Linked DNA regions of Homo sapiens: region 1 is linked to region 2. Evidence: promoter capture Hi-C in human tissues and cell types (Jung and others, 2019). All regions are on one chromosome and are shown on one strand. Each heading gives the region's core, a stretch centred on a gene start or on the middle of the fragment in contact. The rest is flanking DNA. Distances are from core to core; before and after follow the strand shown.

Region 1 (2,700 bases), core at 71-2,570, 53 kb before region 2:
CATGTGGAGGCCCACTTGGGGCCCCGCATGCTGCCTGGTGACCTGGGCATGGGCTTGTATATGCACATACATGCAGGCCTGTGCTTAAGTAGCCCTCTAGATGCAGAAGGCCTGGGCTTTCACCCTCAAAAGTCATCTGGTCCAGCCCCCTGCCTCTTGAATGGAGAGGAGGAAGGGGCAGATAAGTTCGTATCCTCCCTTTGGACACATAGGCTCTGGAGAGCTTCACAGAACCTGAGGTACTGGTGCCAAATCCCCCAGCCCCCAACCCCAGTCCAGTCTCTTCTGGCTTCCAGAAGAATCAGGAAGCCCCCTCCACCCAGGAAAGGCACACACACCAGTTAGGCTAAGTCTGTGGGGAGCGGGGTACTGCTCCTCTTGTAGGGACAGAACGCTGTAGCACATTAGACAGCTGGAAGAACTCAACGAAAGGCAGGGGATGGGCAGAGCAATAGGGTTGACTGAGACTTCCCTTAGCAGGGGGGTGGGGTAAGGAAAGGCCCGAAGCGGACGCCGGGGACAGGAAGGAGGCTGCAAGGCAGGGCCCTCCGTGGAGACAAGGATGGATAGAATGGCTTTCCAGAGTTGGAGATTAGGACAAAGACCTATTTGCCTCAGCATCTCCTACCACACCCACCCCTGGCCCCATCACTGCTATGGTGCAGACACACCCTTGAATCCATACACAGAGGCCCATGCAAGCAAGCTCACACACACACCCACCCACCCACCCACCCACACACACACACACCCCGGGGGGTGGGGGCAGCAGTGCATGTGATGCATCGGCTTATAACAAAAAAAACCTGAAGATGGTCGTTCTGACAGAGCCAGAGTTGGGTGGGGGGAAAAGAAGCTTCAAATGTCTTCTGTGTTCTGTTCTCTCTGCCCCCTAACGTGCATATGCACCATGCACGCTACTTCTGAGGAGCCTCCTGGTCTGCTGGGCAAGACCGAGCCATCCTTCCTCCCCTTTCCTCCCCTCCTCACAGTGGGGAAGCCACAGCAATCTGTTCCTGATGGGTAAACACAGGCGTGAGTACGTGCACACACGTGCTCACACACACACCAGCCACTCAGGCCACAGAGCACCCAGCGCTCACTTCACCCCGAGACAGAGCACACACTTGGGCTCTCACTACACCCGGCAGAGCTCTCAAAGCCCCCGCCTCCTCAGACACACAGGGCCAGAGCTTCACAGACACACCCAGGCAGCCTCTCGCAGACACTGGCATTCAGAGCCTACCATCGTGGCCACACATCAGGGCCTCCCACATGGACACCCACTCCCACAGCCCCGTACACGCTGGTGTGCGTGCACACATTACAGTCACACTCACACACACAGACTCCCTCACACAGCCATGGTCTCACATATGGATACCATCACACACTCCGAACAGTCAACCTTCCACACAGACACCATTGTACACTTCCAGAAGCTCAGGGCCCCCAGTCGCCCTTGGCCTCTCACGCCCCGACACCGGCAATGGGAAACACCCACATACACACCCTGAACAGCCACACTGTGCCAGCACCTCAGGTTGCCTAGCCGTGCCTGAGGGGAGGGACAGAAAGCCTAGGGATGCCTAGGGCAGGAAAGAAAAGGAAAGGAAATACTTCGTTGGTCCCTAAAAAGTGAGAAAATAAATGATTATTCCCCAGGCAGCTCCTTCTTCCCCAAACCCTGCTTTCAACAGCATTAGGGAATGAAGGGAGATCCATTCCAGACAGGAGAGGTGAAGGAAGTACCTGGGGGAGACAGATGGTGGCACTGGAATCAGCAAGAGCCAGAAAGGCCCAGAAATCAGCCGACTTCCCAGGCCCTTGCTGCCTTCCCTCATCACCCTCTCTTCCCCACGATGCGGATCGGCAGCAGCTCTCAGCCTAGCTATCTGCTGTGTGATCCCAAGGCCTCTTCAAAACCTCTATGTGCCCATAACTGTCTAGCGGGCACCCAGATGTCTGGCCTGGCTGCAGAAAGGGCAGGAGAAGGGAAGGAGATGAGACCTCCACTCCAGCCCCCCAGCCCCCACCAAAGCCCTGGCATCACTGTCAGCCCACAGAGAGGTAGGGCAGATGCCCAGCAGCAGGAGGGGAGCAGGCAGAGCCAGCGGTGCTCCTCTAACTAACCACTGAGGAGGAGAGTCCTAAGGTGTCCTTGGACCCTGCAGCCCCGCCCCCATCACTGGAGGAGTAGACGCGGAGTCGCTGTCCAGTCAGAATGGAATCCAGGCTGTGCTGGCCAGGCCCCAGCCCAGGAAAGATCGGCAATGCTGCAGACATCCTTGCCACTTGCCACTCCAGGTGTAGCTGGGGCCCTGATGCCTCCATCCTAAAAGGAGCCTGACGTGACTCCACGGAAGACAGGCAGGACCTAAGGAAACCAGGCAGGGGTAATGCCATAAAGCCAGGTGATAGGGACTTCGGGGAAGGGGGCAGTGGGGACAAAAGAAACCAGGCAGCAGGGTGTAAGGAAACCAGGTGACAGGGCCCCAAAGAAGGTAGGTGGTGGGAGCCAAATGAAATCAGGCAGTGGGGACTAAAGTTAGCTAGGAGGTGTGGACAAATGAAGCCAGGCTTTGGGGATCAAATGAAACCAGGCAAGAGGCCCACAGGATGTGAGAAAAGAAAGATATCAGGAGCTCATCCCCTCTGTCTAGATGTCACCCCCACACGCTGGGCCTCTCTCTCTGTAGC
Region 2 (2,700 bases), core at 42-2,541:
GGCCCCTGGACGGCTCTCCTCAGCTGCCTCCTCCTCTGCCCCGGCTTCCTCCCGCTTCTCCTCATCTTCTTCAGCATCTTCCTCTTCCTCAGCCCCAACATTCCCCAAGGCCCCCTCAGGGGCCTGTAGGGTCCGGTGGTCAGGCAGGGGAGGCTGCGGTGGCAGCAGCGGGCATGCAGGGGCCAATGGCCCCACCCCCTGGGCCAGCCGAGCTGCCTGCTGCTTCTGCAGGGCCTCCATGACAGCTTCCAGGCGCAGTCCCCCAGCTGAGGGGGTCCCTGGTACCAGGCGGGACCCCGAGGAAAGGGCCGCCTGTGGGGGAGGGAATTATGGGTGCTGGGCCCTACTGCCCCCAGAGCCCCCCAACACAGGGGGAGGTGGTCATGGATTCAGGGAAGTGCAGGGGTCACAAGGAAAGAGGCAGAAAGATGGCTTTCCCAGAGGTGAACAGAAACAGGACCAGACCCGGGGAATCAAATGGCCATTGACTGAGGACTGGAAGAGTGAGCAGATCAGAGAGGGTGACGGGGACCAAGAGACATCGGGAAATGGTGAAGGAAGGGAGAGAGAAAGAAAAGGAGAAGGGGGATGTCCGACAGAGACAATGACAGGGAGATGTGAAAATAGAGATGGAACAGGGTGACAAGGAGAGACAGAAGTGGGGTGACACAGAGACTGAGAGGGACCAAGATGGAGAGAGGCAGAGGTATCAGGCAGAGACAGGGTAGACAGACAGAGATGGAGAGAGATAGAATATTGGGTAGAGAGACAGGGAGGGTAAGAGAGGTAGAGGAGCAACAGATAAAAGACCTAAGTGACAGGTAGCTCAGAGACGGACAGAGACGGAGAGACAGAGGCGGAGATAGACAAATAGACAGGGGTTGAGATATAGGGAAAGACCAAGACAGCAGGAAACGGACAGAAGAGAGAGATTAGAAAGAGACAGTTAAATAGAGAGGGACCGACAGAGACAGGGACGGGAAAAACAGCCGGAGAGAGGGGCAGAGGACAGGGACCAAGGAGTCGCGGGGATGGAGGGCGGTGGGGCAGAGCCTGGGACGGGCACGGGACCGGACGGGCAGGAGGCGGCAGAGTCGCGACGCCCGGCTCCCTCGCTCCGGGCGCCCCGCGGCCGCACTCACCTGCCTGGCGTGGCCCGCTGCCCCTGGCGTCTCCACGGCGCTGCCTTTGCTCCGCCCGCCTCCCAGGCGGCCCTGGCCTCGGCTGGGTCCCGGCGGTGCGCTCCCGCCGCCCTGTGCTCCTCTGGCGGCTGTGCGCTCACTCGCCGCGCTGCTTGCGGCGGCCGCGGGGGCGGGACCCGAGCGGGGCAGGGCGGGCGGGGCGCATGGGGAGAGGCCCCTGTGGGATCTGCCGCTCTCAGCTCCCCAACAGGTGTCTCCCACCTTCTTTCCAGCCAGCTTCGGGGGCAGGGGGCGCTGGAAAGCTGCGGGGGAATCGTGCGAAAATGAGGGCTCTACCGCCACCGGACTCCGGACCAGAGCCCCGCCCAGCCTCACAAGTCGTGCCCCCGACACCCACACTCGGCACTGGGCTTCCACATACAAATAGCCGCATCCACACACCAACACACCTTGTCACAAGTTCAGGCGCATAGCTTCCCAGTCTCACACGTTCCGTGACATGGTCACCACAGTGCCAATGGCCTGGGCACGCTGTGATCAAGAGGGGAATCCCTCTGCAAGATGCTGGGGTGTGCGTGGAGGGTCTGGTCAGAATAGAAGCTTCTCCCTTTGCCTTGAGCACCCCTGCCCTGCCTACGTGCTGTCCCCCACTGCGGGCATGCTGCGGTTTGCACACATGAGTGCACATGGTGGTGGACCCACACCTATGCACTCACACACTCTCAGAGGTCTTTAAGCTGACTGCACACTCACCGCATGCAGATACACAGCCACACACAGTTTTTGTCTCTTTTGACATTCTATTATGGAAATTTTCTTTTCTTTTCTTTTTCTTTCTTTTCTTTTTTTTCTTTTTTGGAGACAGAGTCTCTGTCACCCAGGCTGGAGTGCAGTGGCGCGATCTGGGCTCACTGCAGCCTCCGCCTCCCAGGTTCAAGTGATTCTACTGCCTCAGCCTCCCGAATAGCTGGAATTAGCTGGGATTACAGGCGTCCACCACCAGACCCGGCTAATTTTTGTCTTTTTAGTAGAGATGGGGTTTCACCATTTTGGCTAGGCTGGTCTCGAACTCCTGACCTCAAGTGATCCACCCACCCTGGCCACCCACAGTGCTGGGATTACAGGCATGAGCTACCGTACCCAGCCTGTATTATGAAAATTTTGAAACATAGACAAGTGAATAGTATAATGAACCTCTGGTACTCATCATAGGTTTGTTTCAACAGTGACCGGCACTTCGCCCATGTTCACACACATTCTCCACCTATGTGTGCCTGACTGCCACATCTGTATCTCCAGACCCCCTCAGCCCACTGCTTTGCGCCCTCCCCCTAACTATTCCCAAGACGCTGAAATGCTGTTCCTTATTTGGGGGTTCTGAGTGGCAGGCCTCTCAGAATTTCTGCTCTGAACAGCCTGGACCCCACTCCTCCCGGGAATCCTCATACTTCCTATTTCTTCCTGTGCCCAAGGGGACCACTTACCAAACAGAGGGACACTGTGAGGTGATGCCAAGTGTGTAAGTGAACAGCAGGTGTCTGTAGGGGTGACACTTGGC

Evidence for each region. Contacts are between HindIII fragments. The study calls those that stand out against the background at their distance.
Region 1: a fragment that was not itself captured here is called in contact with the fragment with the promoter of ARID3C in region 2 in 1 of the 25 tissues and cell types used here (neural progenitor cells).

What each region holds. Positions count from the first base shown.
Region 1 is chr9:34,574,952-34,577,651 of GRCh38, forward strand. The region is part of intron 2 of CNTFR (ciliary neurotrophic factor receptor); the gene reads right to left. All of the region lies in intron 1 of CNTFR-AS1 (CNTFR antisense RNA 1), which reads left to right. Among named protein-coding and RNA genes, the nearest start is that of CNTFR-AS1, 8.3 kb to the left of the region's middle. The HindIII fragment of the contact is 3,588 bases long and covers 1-2,700 here.
Region 2 is chr9:34,627,775-34,630,474 of GRCh38, forward strand. ARID3C (AT-rich interaction domain 3C) reads right to left here and starts at 1,292. Exons shown (of 8, transcript NM_001017363.4): 1 at 1,143-1,292; 2 at 1-312. The coding sequence starts at 240. RefSeq lists silencers at 1,101-1,200, 1,251-1,410. The HindIII fragment of the contact is 10,650 bases long and covers 1-2,700 here.